Regions from separate parts of the Homo sapiens genome. Here region 1 is linked to region 2. Evidence: promoter capture Hi-C in human tissues and cell types (Jung and others, 2019). All regions are on one chromosome and are shown on one strand. The core of a region is centred on a gene start or on the middle of the fragment in contact, and the rest is flanking DNA. Distances in the headings are between cores, read along the strand shown. Region 1 has its middle 17 kb from the start of LGALS16. Region 2 holds the start of MAP3K10 (mitogen-activated protein kinase kinase kinase 10).

Evidence for each region. The method cuts DNA at HindIII sites, captures the fragments that hold promoters and counts their contacts. A contact is called where the count stands out against the background at its distance.
Region 1: a contact is called between a fragment that was not itself captured here and the fragment with the promoter of MAP3K10 in region 2, in 1 of the 25 tissues and cell types used here (lymphoblastoid cells).

The regions. Positions count from the first base shown.
Region 1 is chr19:39,669,038-39,676,195 of GRCh38, forward strand. No RefSeq gene overlaps it. Among named protein-coding and RNA genes, the nearest start is that of LGALS16, 17 kb to the left of the region's middle. The HindIII fragment of the contact is 3,110 bases long and covers 3,175-6,284 here.
Region 2 is chr19:40,187,302-40,194,265 of GRCh38, forward strand. MAP3K10 (mitogen-activated protein kinase kinase kinase 10) reads left to right here and starts at 4,125. Exons shown (of 10, transcript NM_002446.4): 1 at 4,125-5,412. The coding sequence starts at 4,731. RefSeq lists an enhancer at 3,353-3,592 and silencers at 3,753-4,252, 4,523-4,822. The HindIII fragment of the contact is 11,839 bases long and covers 2,098-6,964 here.

The DNA.
Region 1 (7,158 bases), core at 3,480-5,979, 520 kb before region 2:
GCATAATACTGGTACCAAAACAGAGATATAGATCAATGGAACAGAACAGAGCCCTCAGAAATAACGCCACATATCTACAACTATCTGATCTTTGACAAACCTGAGAAAAACAAGCAATGGGGAAAGGATTCCCTATTTAATAAATGGTGCTGGGGAAATTGGCTAGCCATATGTAGAAAGCTGAAACTGGATCCCTTCCTTACACCTTAAACAAAAATTAATTCAAGATGGATTAAAGACTTAAACGTTAGACCTAAAACCATAAAAACCCTAGAAGAAAACCTAGGCATTACCATTCAGGACATAGGCATGGGCAAGGACTTCATGTCTAAAACACCAAAAGCAATGGCAACAAAAGCCAAAATTGACAAATGGATCTAATTAAACTAAAGAGCTTCTGCACAGCAAAAGAAACTACCGTCAGAGTGAACAGGCAACCTACAAAATGGGAGAAAATTTTTGCAACCTACTCATCTGACAAAGGGCTAATATCCAGAATCTACAATGAACTCCAACAAATTTACAAGAAAAAAACAAACAACCCCATCAAAAAGTGGGCAAAGGACATGAACAGACACTTCTCAAAAGAAGACATTTATGCAGCCAAAAAACACATGAAAAAATGCTCACCATCACTGGCCATCAGAGAAATGCAAATCAAAACCACAATGAGATACCATCTTATACCAGTTAGAATGGCAATCATTAAAAAGTCAGGAAACAACAGGTGCTGGAGAGGATGTGGAGAAATAGGAACACTTTTACACTGTTGGTGGGACTGTAAACTAGTTCAACCATTGTGGAAGTCAGTGTGGCAATTCCTCAGAGATCTAGAACTAGAAATACCATTTGACCCAACCATCCCATTACTGGGTATATACCCAAAGGACTATAAATCATGCTGCTATAAAGACACATGCACACGTATGTTTATTGTGGCACTATTCACAATAGCAAAGACTTGTAACCAAGCCAAATGTCCAACGTTGATAGACTGGATTAAGAAAATGTGGCACATATACACCATGGAGTACTATGCAGCCATAAAAAATGATGAGTTCATGTCCTTTGTAGGGACATGGATGAAATTGGAAATCATCATTCTCAGTAAACTATCGCAAGAACAAAAAACCAAACACTGCATATTCTCACTCATAGGTGGGAATTGAACAATGAGAACACATGGACACAGGAAGGGGAACATCACACTCTGGGGACTGTTGTGGGGTGGGGGAAGGGGGGAGGGATAGCTTTAGGAGATATACCTAATGCTAAATGATGAGTTAATGGGTGCAGCACACCAGCATGGCACATGTATACATATGTAACTAACCTGCACATTGTGCACATGTACCCTAAAACTTAAAGTATAATAATAATTTTTTAAAAAAGAAAATGACATAAGAAAAAAAAAAAAGAAAAAACAGATAAAGTGCACTTTGTCTGTATTTACAGCCCATAATCAAGAAATCATTGCCCAATCTCATGTCATGATGATATCTGCCTGTCATTATCATTTCTCCTATCATTATCATTGAAGGTCTTACGTTTACTCATTGATACATTTTGAGTTCACTATTGTATATGTTATAAGCTAAGGGACCAGTATGTGTAAGTCCAGTTTTCCCAGCATCACGTGTTGAGAAGTCTGTCCTTTTCCAATGCGATGGTCGTAGCCCATTGTGGACTCTCAGGTGACCCTCTGTGAGTGTTTCTAGGCTCTCTATTCTACTCCTTTGATTTCTATGCCTCTCCTTAAGCCAGCACCACACTGTCATGATATTATAGCTTTTTAAAGAGGTCAAACATTGGCCACAATAAAATATGCACTTCCAAAGCCATTTTTAGGTATTATATATCATGGATTAGGCTCTTTTTTTTTATTCTCAGGACCTACATGGACACTATTTCTCATCCTTGTGATACAGGAGTTATTAAGAAATAATTTTTAGGTAGATAGTAAGGGTAAAAGTTCTTGGTGGAAATTTTCCTGTAATAAGAAACAACCCCCAAACCATCTCTTTTCTAACAGAAAAGGTGGCTTGAAGGGCCAGGAGAGCAAGCTTTGATATGCAAATACTGGGTCATTAGAAACGAGGTTCACTCAATGTGGTGATTCCTGCCATCTTTTCCTTGTCACCAGGTGTACCAAGTGTCATGGCCACTTTCAGATAACACCATGTGTTCGAAACATCATGGCAACCCGCATTTGCATATTAAAGGGCTAAGATGGGAGGGCCAGATTTTTCACAGGCTACAGAAATTACACACCTGGTCAAACCAATCCCCTGGGCCCTATGGAAACCAGAAGCCGCCTCCTCCAGCATCCCAATATAAGCAATCACTTTTCCACCACACATGGTTTTTATGTGTGTGTGTGTGATAGGTTTTTATTTATTATTATACTTTAAGTTCTAGGGTACATGTGCACAACGTGCAGGTTTGTTACATATGTATACATGTGCCATGTTGGTGTGCTGCACCCATTAACTCGTCATTTACATTAGGTATTTCTCTTAATGCTTTCCCTCCCCCCATCATTCTGAGCAAACTATCGCAGGGACAGAAAACCAAACACCGCATGTTCTCACTCGTAGGTGGGAATTGAACAATGAGAACACTTGGACACAGGGTGGGGAGCATGGGGGGTTTTTTGTTCGAATCCCCCTCTCTCTGTCTCTGTACGGGGGAGCTGTTTTCTTCCTTCCTTCTTTCTTGCCTATGAAACTTTTCACCCCTTAAAACCACTCCACATGTGTCCATGTTGTTAATCTTATCAGCACGAGACCAAGGACCCTGGTTCCCTCCAGTCATCGGAGCCATATCTTTTAGGTGCATTGGCCAGGAATGGGAATTCATTCATCAGACTGGTGAGTATGGAGCAAATCTCAACTTTAAATCTGTCTTTTAATCTCTAGGCTCTCTTCCAGCTATCCTGCCACCAAACTTTCTTTCTCTCTCTACCCGCGGTCTCTTACTGTCTCTCTCACTGTGTCTAATGTGCAGGAATCTTTACAGTTCAGGGAAACAGGTCTGTTAGAGAAGATCATGAATCAAGGCAGGCAGTAACTCAATAAACGTCTGTCTCTCTAAGGTTTCGCTGGTGAGCACATGGTATTTCTAAGCCAAAACCGCCACCTGGTGGAAATAAAAATCCTCTTCATGAGACACTTGGTTCTCTGTGGTACGTTGCAGCTTCACAATTTCTCCATTTTGCACTTTTTTACTGCTACTTCTGTGGACGGGAAACTCTGGTTTCAACCATTAGGAGTAAGATGTCTTCCACAGCCAGATTTTAGTCCCAATATTGTCCCATCAGTAGGAAAACTGCCATTCGGTTCCTACACTCTTTTAAGGCACCTATTCTGTCTCCAATTAAGACAGTACTTAATTGGTAAGGGGATATTAAGTTTAGAAGTTAACCAGAACAGTTTTTTTTAAAGGGTAAATGCATTAGCACGGGTCATAATAGCAGGCAATCTAGCACATTGCCTCCATTAAAGGAGCCTTGCCCAGAGGTGACACAGTCTCCCCGGAGATCCGTTTTCAGGGAGCCAGGCAAACTGCACATGTTTAGGAAATCAAAGGTAAATCACACAAGGCAGATAAGCTAAGACTGCATGGGTAAGCACGGGTAGCCCCATCACTTAGTTCATCCAGCTCTATGGCTTGGAGGACCACACCTACAGCCATGGGTGGCACATTTAACATGGTGCCGGGATCCAGAAACCAGGGAGGGGAAGTAATCAGAGGATGCTCCCTGTCTGCTCCTCCACTCTGGGTCATACCAAAAGGAAGGAGACTAAGAAGATGCTTTGTATTCTTTCTTCTTTTTCTAAATGGATAATAAATTATCTTTAGGTTGCACCCCTCTGGAGTGCACTCTGAAACACTGAAACTTCCTTAATCTCAAAACTGTAAAGAGAAAAGCAATTTATTTTCTTTTGCACAAGGACATGGCATTTTTACTAAATGGGAGGGAAGCGGTTCTCATAAACAACCCTAACTAAAACTTCAATAGCTCAGGAAATGATAGGAAAAGGAAGTACTTTTTAATACTCACTATAAAAGGCCTAGAGGAAACCAGGGCCAAACCTCTCAGTTACTCTAAGCTGTCTATAATGAACCAAAAGCCAGATAATAATTCTGTAGCCTTTATGGAAAGGCCAAGAGAGGCACTAATAGAGTACATCTCCTTATCCCCTAATTCAATGGAGGAACAGCTCATTTTGAAGGAGAAGTTTATTACAAAAGCAGCTCCTGATATTAAAACTAAAAAAGCAAGCTTAGGACAAAATACCACCTTAGAGAACCTCCTGCAAGTGGCGACTTTGGTCTTTTATAATAGGGACAAGGAGGAGTCCCAACAAAAGCGGGGGAATCTCAAGAGAAGGACAGAGGCTCCAGCAGCAGCTTTGCAAGCTTGTAAAGTCCAGAATCCCCAAGGTACATCCACTAGTTGCTATTGGCATGGCAGCCCAGAGCATTTTTAAAAGGAATGCCCAGGCAGCAAGATGAAGCAAACTCAACCCTATCCAGGCTGTGGCAAAAACCACTGGAAACAGAACTACCCCCAGAGGCAGAGGTCACTGGGTTCAAAATCAGCCTCACAGATGGTCCAGCAGGAATGATGGGTCCAAGGGCTCCAACATTGGCTCCAGTGACTCAAACTGCCATAGAGCACAGGAGTCCTAGAGGATTCTGGAAATTTACAAAAGGAAAGTAAACCTCCTTCTAAGCACTAGAGCCAGTCTCTCTCTTTTCTCCTCTCTAATCCAGGCCTCCGCTCTTCTCATAGCACAACTGTAAAGGGCATCTCGGGAAAAACTCTAATCCAATATTTTTTTCAACCTTAGCTGTAGTTAGAAAGACCTATTTACACGTGCTTCCAAGTCATTGTCATAATAGCTCTACTAGTCAAAAAAGCCTCCAAGTTAACCCTAGGAAATAATTCAACTGTTTACAGCCCACATAATGTGGCAGGATCACTGACCTCTAAGGGGAGCTCTTAGCTAGTAAACAGCCAGTAAAGCAAGAAGTACATAAGGCAGGATGAGCAGTAGTCACTGCCCCAAACACAAGCACTCAATTAGCTGAGCTAATAGCTCTTACAAGAGCACTTAAATTAAGCCAGAGAAAGATAGCTAACATTTCTACTAACTCCAAGTATGCTTTCCTAATTGTCCATGCTCATGCTGCTATTTAAAAGGAAAGGCATTTTCTTACCACTAATGAATCTCCCATAAAATATCACCAGGAAATTAATAGGTTATTATCCTCAGTTTTTCTTCCACAAGAAATAGCAGGATGCATTGTAGGGAACATCAAAAGAAAATAAATAAGGTAAGCAAAGGAAATAAATTAACTGGTCAGCCAGCTAAGACAGAGGCAAGGAAGTCTCAGGGCATTAACACAACTAGTGAAAGCCCAAGTCCAGGAACTAAAACCATCTTTATTTAATCCAGGAAATTTAGTATTAGTGAAAAATCTCATCTCTCTCCTTCCCTAAGCCAAGCTGGGAAGGGCCCTCCACTGTTCTTCTTTCAACCCTCTCAGTAGTAAAATTTACAGGAATCAACTCCTGAATACATCACACTAAAGTCAAAGCTTAAAAAGCTGGGGGAGCAACCCCTAACAGTCCAGAGAAACATCCAGAATGTCCATGTGGAAAAGCAGAAAATGTTAAGCTAAAAATCACAAAAATTAAGTAACTGAGTAAGGTCTACCCATCTTACTCAGTCCCACATTTACCTCAACATATACTTGTTGTCATTTCTGCCCTTTCCTGTCAAAATTTGCCACCAAATATTAAAACTTCTTTTTAATGTATAATTGCAGAAAATTTTAATGATAAATGAAATTGCACTTGGAACTCCGTAAATCCCCAAAGGGAAATGTTATATCTTGACAAGTAAAGTTTTAAACAAATGTTTTTTACTATCCCACTCTTGTGGGAATTGTTATAGTTATGCTACTATTTGTGATAAAACTATACACTGTGGCACCCACAATGTGGAATTCTGGTTGTAAAATTCTAATTCGTGCTCCTATGAGAATCTAATGCTGGGGCTTATCTGACAGGAGGCCACTCACGCAGTAATGCTTACCCACTGCTCACCTCCTGCTTTGTGGCTTCTTTCCTAACAGGCCACGGATTGTTACTGCTCTATGGCTTGAGGGTTGGGGACCCCTGCTCTAGGGTGTATCTCTTTCAGGGTTCCAACTAAAAGCCTAACTCTCTCTCCCACTTGGCAGACAACAACCTATAATTTTTGTATCTTCAGATCCACAAGACTGATAGAAGTTCTACTCTGCCACCACCTAAGAATCAACTTCTAATTTATGATACTATTTTAATTTCCCCAATTGTACAAAAGCATGTCCTTTATAGCTGTTTTAAAATCCATTATCCAATCAGGTTTCATGCACTTTGGTGCTATACTTCTTTGGTCTCTTTTAATCTAGAACATTCTCCCTGCCTTGTTATGACATTTTTTGATGCTTTTTGAATTTTTGTCATATATAAGGCTCCAAAAATGAAAATGAGCTTGGTGGTATGAGGAATTGAAAAGAGGTCAGTATATCAGGCATTTCTTGCACCACGTGTTATCCTCTCAGCCCCACCTCTTCATCCAGCCATTGCTAAGGTGACCAGGTCCAGACAGTTGTTCACTAGCTTCATGCAGGTACACACTGACAGTGCCTCTCCTTAGTATCTATCTTTCCAGTACCTTCCTCTTTCCAGCACTGGGCTTCTTTGAGATGGTAGAATAGGACTTTTGCAGAAATCCTCTCAGCACCCATGCATTTGCAAACCAAAGTTGTGGGAGACTTAATGCCAACAGGATGACTTTTTAACAACTGGGGATGGGGGCAGATGGATAAATACTTCCTTTCATCTTCTGGGCAGAGAGTACTAAGAAACATTTCTTATTTGGTCGGGGTGAGGGTGAAAACCAAGCTTATGCCAGAAAAAGTCATAGAAAGCAGCTGGACCCTCATACTGGGAACCTAAATCTCTTATTGGGCAGATCACTGTAAAGATCCATTGCTGGTAAGTGAAGTAGTGATTACCCATGGCATACTAAGTATCACAATTACTAAGTATTGCTTGGTATTACAATTACGAGTTCACAATGACTAAGCATAGTCGCCTGT
Region 2 (6,964 bases), core at 2,875-5,374:
TGAGCTGAGATATCACCACTGCACTATAGCCTGGATGACACAGCAAGGCTGTCTCAAAAAAAAAAAAAAAAGAAAAGAAAAGAAAAGAAATGCAAAACAACCCTAAATAAAGTATTATTAAATCAAATCCAGCAATGGTGAAAGCAAGAAAGAGGAGATAATCAACATTAATGGATTAAAGGCAGAAAAACCATCTGATTGCATAAATAAATGCATAAAAAGCATTTGATAAAATGTAACACCTGCATTTAAAAAAGAAAGAAAGAAAGAAAGAAAGAAAAATCTCTAGCAAGTTAGGAATAGAACCTGATAAAGGACTTCTACTAGAAATCTACTGAAAGCATCATATTTAATGATGAAACCTTAGGATCATTCCCTTAAATGTCTAGGACAAGACAAGAATTGTCCATTAATACCACTGCCATTCAACATTGTATTGGAACTCCTAGCCAAAGAGGAGAGGATTAAGAAAAAAAGCATAGACATCAGATTTTTTAAAGCTGTAATTTTTTTCTTTTTTCTGGACAACAGGATCATCTAGCTAGAAAATCGAAGAGAATTATCTGTCAAGCTATTCTAGAACAAGCAAGAGTGAGTTCAACAAGGCAGCCAAATCCAAGATAATTTTTTTTCTTTTTTTTTTTGAGATGGAGTCTCACTCTGTCACCAGGCTGGAGTGCAGTGGCGCAATCTCGGCTCACTGCAACCTCTGCCACCCGGTTCAAGCGATTCCCCTGCCTCAGCCTCCCGAGCAGCTGGGATTACAGGTGACTGCCACCATGCCCTGACTAAATTTGTATTTTTAGTAGAGACAGGGTTTCACCATGTTGGCCAGGCTGGTCTTGAACTCCTGACCTTGTGATCCACCCGCCTTGGCCTCCCAAAGTGCTGGGATTACAGGCGTGAGCCACCGCACCGGGCCCAGAGACAACCTGTTCTGCAGCCCATTTGCTTCTTCCAGAGTCTCCCTCTGTCGTCCGGGCTAGAGTACACTGGCTCGATCTCGGCTCACTGCAACCTCCGCCTCCCAGGTTCAAGCGATTCTCCTGCCTCAGCCTCCTGAGTAGCTGAGATTACAGGCACCTGCCACCACGCCTGGCTAATTTTTGTATTTTTAGTAGAGATGAGGTTTCACCATGTTGTCCAGGCTGGTCTCAAACTCCTGACCTCAGGTGATTTGCCTGCCTCAGCCTCCCAAAGTGCTGCGATTACAGGTGTGTGAGCCACCGCCCCCACCCTCTATTTGCTTCTTTGAGATGAATCACCCCATAAATGATTGGTAAACAGAGTAATGATGTCAGCATAACACAAGCATGTTGGTTAACATGCAATTTTCTCCAGGAAGTTAACATTTTGAAGCAATCAGGGCCAAGCTTTCTCACAGTTAAAGGGGAAGCCTTAGTACTAAAAGAAGATCTTCAGAGGAAAAAGCTGCAAATCTACAGAAGTGTCTTCCTTTGGATCCACGGTGGCTGGTTTAGTGACTTCAAAGACCACCATATTTGTCACAGTGTTATGCCTATGGCAAATCCATGAATGCAGATGAAGAAATTGCAAATATATTTCTCCCATATTAAAATAACAGATTAATGAAAAAGATCACACCTTGGATCACATTTCGAGTTTTGATGAAAATGATCCCCATCAATAGTTAATATCTCCAACCAGCATCCCCAAAGAGGAAGCATAAGCCCCACCTTCAAGGCTGCAAAGTGCTGCTGAAAGCAAATGCTCATGGAAATTTACCTATTCTAGTGTTTCTATTAGCATCATTATTGGTTTTGTAGCACTCTGAATATAAAGTTGTATACAAGAGGCCGGGCATGGTGCCTCACACCTGTAATCCCAGCACTTTGAGAGGCCAAGGCGGGCGGATCACGAGGTCAGGAGATCGAGACTATCCTGGCCAACATGGTGAAACCCTGTCTCTACTAAAAATACAAAAATTAGCTGGGCATGGTGGCGCCCACCTGTAATTCCAACTACTCGGAAGGCTGAAGCAGGAGAATCACTTGAACCAGGGAGTCGGAGGTTGTGGTATGCCAAGACCGTGCCACTGCACTCCAGCCTGGCAACAGAGTGAGACTCCATCTCAAAAAAAAAAAAAGTTGTATACAGGTTTTTATTTTTACTTTTTTTTTTTTGAGTCAGGGTCTCGCTCTGTCTCTCAGGCTGGAGTGCAGTCAGTGCCACAATCACAGCTCACAGTAGCCTCGACCTCCTGGGCTCAGGTAATACCCCTATACCTCAGTCTCCCGAGTAGCTGGGAACACAGGTGCACACCACCACACCCGCCTAATTTTTTATTTTTTTGTAGAGACGGAGTCTCCCTATGTTGCCCAGGCTAGTCTGAAACTCCTGGACTCCAGTAATTCTCCCTCCTCGGCCTCTGAAAGTGCTGGGATTACAGGCATGAGCCACCGTGCCCAGCTAGTTGCATATATTTTGAGCAATCTGTCTCTAACTCTATTTTTTCCATGAAGTCTTGTTAATTTTAGTGCACCGTTTTGAAGAACTGAAGGTTTTTTAAGAATGCATATAGCAGGTTATAGCAGAAACACTTATACTCAGAATGAAGCTGGGGCTCTCTCTTCCAACAAGCATTTTTGATATGCTCCGAGTGTCCCTGCTAGGTAGCCAGGAGACCAGGTAACCCACTTCCCTCTGACAATGGAACAATTCCCCAAGGACCCTGAGGGGCAGTTCTCTGGAGTTTGGGCACTAGAGTCCCTCTTATTTCCTCTTCTTCTCTCCTCCCTCTAGACCCCATACCACTCAGGAGAGGCCAAGTAAAAAGACCCAGAATTTTGCCTCTTACAAGCTTAGAGATCTTGAAGAAGTCACTGAACCTCTGCGGGACCTACTTTCCTCATTCTTTAAATAGAAAGGCAGTGGGTTTTTTGTTTGTTTGTTTTTTGTTGTTTTTTTTTTTGTTGTTGTTGTTTTTGTTAATCGTGGCGATGGTTATTTATTTATTTATTTATTTTGAGACGGAGTCTTGCCCTGTCGTCCAGGCTGGAGTGCTGTGGCGTGATCTTGGCTCACTGCAACCTCCACCTCCCAGGTTCAAGCGATTCTCCTGCCTCAGCCTCCCGAGTAGCTGGGATAGATTACAGGCGCACACCACCACGCCCGGCTAATTTTTTTTTTTTTTTTTAAATAGTAGAGACGGGGGTTTCACCATGCTGGCCAGGCTGGTCACGAACTCCTGGCCTCGTGATCCGCCCGCCTTGGCCTCCCATAGCGCTGAGATTACAGGCGTGAGCCACCGCGCCCGGCCTGGTTGTTAATTTTTAAAACTGCCTTTCATTTTTGCTTTGCCATTTATAGCTCTGTAGCCTTGCACAAATGACTTCACTTCTCTATGAGTCATCTGTAAAATGGGGCTCTTTGTGAAGACTTAACGATACCACGTGTACAAAGCACTGAATACAACATGCACATTAAGCTCCCCGAAATTGAAACTCCTATAAAATAGGAATCGGGGATTCTCAAGAGCAGGAGTTCTGACTTCAGCAGAGGAACCCAGAGCTGGTGGGGAAAGCAGACGTGGCTGTGACATCCCCAGGGACACTAAACACATCCTCCCAGCCCCATCTTCCCCGCAGAGTCCCGCCACCGGCCCGACCCCTAACTTGCTCCAACCACCCGCCGACGCCCGCAGCCCGCTGTTTGGGGGCCGCCCCCTGCAGCGCCAGGTCCCCGCGCGGACTACAGTTCCCAGCGTACATCTCGGTCGGGGGGTCCGAGGGGCCGTCCTGCCTCAGGGATAAGGTCCAGGCTGCGTTCGCGGCTCCGGGCAGTCACAGTCATGCACGCAGCTCCTATTTTTCGCGTTGCTAATCGCGTCCGTTGCAGTCCAACCCATCCTGGGCCGCGGCCCCCACAGGGTCTGTGAGGAGCGCTTCCCCCCGCCCCGGGCGCCCGCTACGCCGCGTCCGAAGGAGGGGCCGAGGCCGGGCTCATCTCCCCGGGAGGACTCCTTCGGCTTCGTGGGGTGTCATGTCCATTGCGGCCCGAGGCTGGCCGCGGGGCTCTGCTGGAGGGCGCTGAGAGCCGGGCCCCGAGGCCGCACGGCCGGAGACTACAACTCCCAGGAGGCACCGCGGCGGCGGCGCCCACACGTCACTCGGGCCCCGCCGGTGGCCCGGGGAAGCAGCACGGGCGGGGGGCAGGGGCTGGGGCCGACCGGGAGGCCGGTGCCAAGGATGGGGGCCGCCCGGCTGCCCCGCGCGTGAGGAGGCCGAGGGGCGCGCCACCCCGGCCCGGGGCGGCCGCCCCAGGGGCCCCGCCACCCCCGCCCGGCCCGGCAGTCGTGGCCCGGGATGCGGAGCCGGGGGCCGCCGGTGGAGCTGCGCGGGGTGAGCGGCGCGGGGAACGGGGACTGCCTGCCGCCCTCGCCCTCGTCCCCCACCGGCGGACCCCGGCGGGCATTCGAGAGCCGCGCGGCCAGGCCCTCTTAGCCCTCTGCCGTTTGGGGGGCACGGGTGAACCTGCCGCCCCACTCCCACCCCGCCCCGCCCCGCCCGTACAGCCAAATCGGAAGGGACGAGCCTGCCCTTTGAAAGGGTTTTTTTTCTTGCTCCTGCGGAGGGCGCCCCAGCCATGGCCCTCAGGAGCTCCCTAGACCCCGCAGGGACTGCCCTCCATCCCGGCCGCCGGGGCCCGCCCTCTGCATCCCGCGGGCAGCCTGTGTGAAGCGGCCTCCCGCAGCCCCCGGCCCCTCCCCCATGGAGGAGGAGGAGGGGGCGGTGGCCAAGGAGTGGGGCACGACCCCCGCGGGGCCCGTCTGGACCGCGGTGTTCGACTACGAGGCGGCGGGCGACGAGGAGCTGACCCTGCGGAGGGGCGATCGCGTCCAGGTGCTTTCCCAAGACTGTGCGGTGTCCGGCGACGAGGGCTGGTGGACCGGGCAGCTCCCCAGCGGCCGCGTGGGCGTCTTCCCCAGCAACTACGTGGCCCCCGGCGCCCCCGCTGCACCCGCGGGCCTCCAGCTGCCCCAGGAGATCCCCTTCCACGAGCTGCAGCTAGAGGAGATCATCGGTGTGGGGGGCTTTGGCAAGGTCTATCGGGCCCTGTGGCGTGGCGAGGAGGTGGCAGTCAAGGCCGCCCGGCTGGACCCTGAGAAGGACCCGGCAGTGACAGCGGAGCAGGTGTGCCAGGAAGCCCGGCTCTTTGGAGCCCTGCAGCACCCCAACATAATTGCCCTTAGGGGCGCCTGCCTCAACCCCCCACACCTCTGCCTAGTGATGGAGTATGCCCGGGGTGGTGCACTGAGCAGGGTGCTGGCAGGTCGCCGGGTGCCACCTCACGTGCTGGTCAACTGGGCTGTGCAGGTGGCCCGGGGCATGAACTACCTACACAATGATGCCCCTGTGCCCATCATCCACCGGGACCTCAAGTCCATCAACAGTAAGTGGTGTCCTCTCCCCAAAATTCCTTCCACAGAACCTCTCAAGGCCAGGCCTAGGTGGTGGGAAACAGGGTGAGGGACACCAGATGACACTGTGCCTGGAGTGAGAAGGGGCAGCAGTATGATACCTTCAGGGTGAAGGTGAGGTAGGCCTTGCCTGCCTTAAGGGAGAAAAAGGAGGCTCAGAAAGGTTGAAGGACTTACCTGCCTCCCAGGCTGCAGAGTCACAATCGCTCAGTAAACATGTATCCATGAACACCTGCGTTCCCTGCATGAACAGGACAGATGCAGTGCCTGCCTTCAAGGTGCTTGCCATCCAGCCATGCTGCCAGAGTCCACCAGGCAGAGACAAAAAGAGCCTACCCCGTCTGGAGTCAGTGTCTCTCAACCCCAGCACTATTGGCACTTGAGGCCAGATCATTGTTGTAGGGGCTGTCCTGTAAATTGTGAGTTGCTTAGCGGCATCTTTAGCCTCTTCCCACTAGATGTCATTAGCATTCCCTGCCCCCTCTCCCCAGCTATGACAACCAAAAGTGTCTCCAGGCATTGCAAATGTCCCCTGGGGGGCAGAATCACCCCCAGTTGAGAACCATTTCCTGGAGTCTTCATAGGCCGAGCTGGCCAAGGCAAACTGGAAAAGATGAGGGAGGAATTAAATTGATGTGGCTTATATAAAAGCTTCCAGGCTGCCTGATAGGTTCTCCAAAGTTGATTGGTTGGTTGAATAAATAATGGAGCCAGGTAGAAGGGAACATTCTGCAAGACTCATTTCTAGATGGAAGAGCTTCATGTGGTGTCAACAAGTATTAATTGAGCACCTATTAAGCAGGAGCCCAGCTGGGAGTAAGACAGCCATGGTTTCTGCCCTGACAGTACTCACAGGCTAGCAATTTCATTCATTCATTCCACAGATATTTCCAGAGTGCTGTGTGCCAGACCCTGTCCCAGGGATACAGCAAGAAAAAAAAAATCTTACATTCCTGGCTCTCCCATTCGTGCTGTGCCCCATCTCACTCCCTTTCATTTCTTCATTCATTTGTTCATTCTTCCATTTGGTATTTACCAGGCCAGATCATGTGCTAAGCAAAGGCATCAGCAGTGGAGAAGGCCAGCATGTCCCCGGCCCTCACGTCACTCACAGTTAAGCCCCAAAATGTGAAGGTGCCCCCTTTGCTCTCAACACCCACATCTCATCTATTCCTGATTTCTGTCACTTCTACATCTTGAAATTTATTTTAATCCATCCCACTATTTTTAGGAATATATTGCTATTCCCCACCCATAGCAATTGTAAGCCCCTAGAATAGAGGGACTGCATCTTCCTTGCCTCCCAAGCCTGACATTTGTATATCAACAGAGAGCTTGGCTGGGCGCGGTGGCTCACGCCTGTAATCCCAGCACTTTGGGAGGCCGACGTGGGTGCATCACCCGAGGTCAGGAGTTCGAGACCAGCCTGACCAATATGGTGAAACCCCTTCTCTACTAAAAATACAAAAATTAGCTGGGCATGGTGGCATGCATCTGTAATCCCAGCTACTCAGGCTGAGGCAG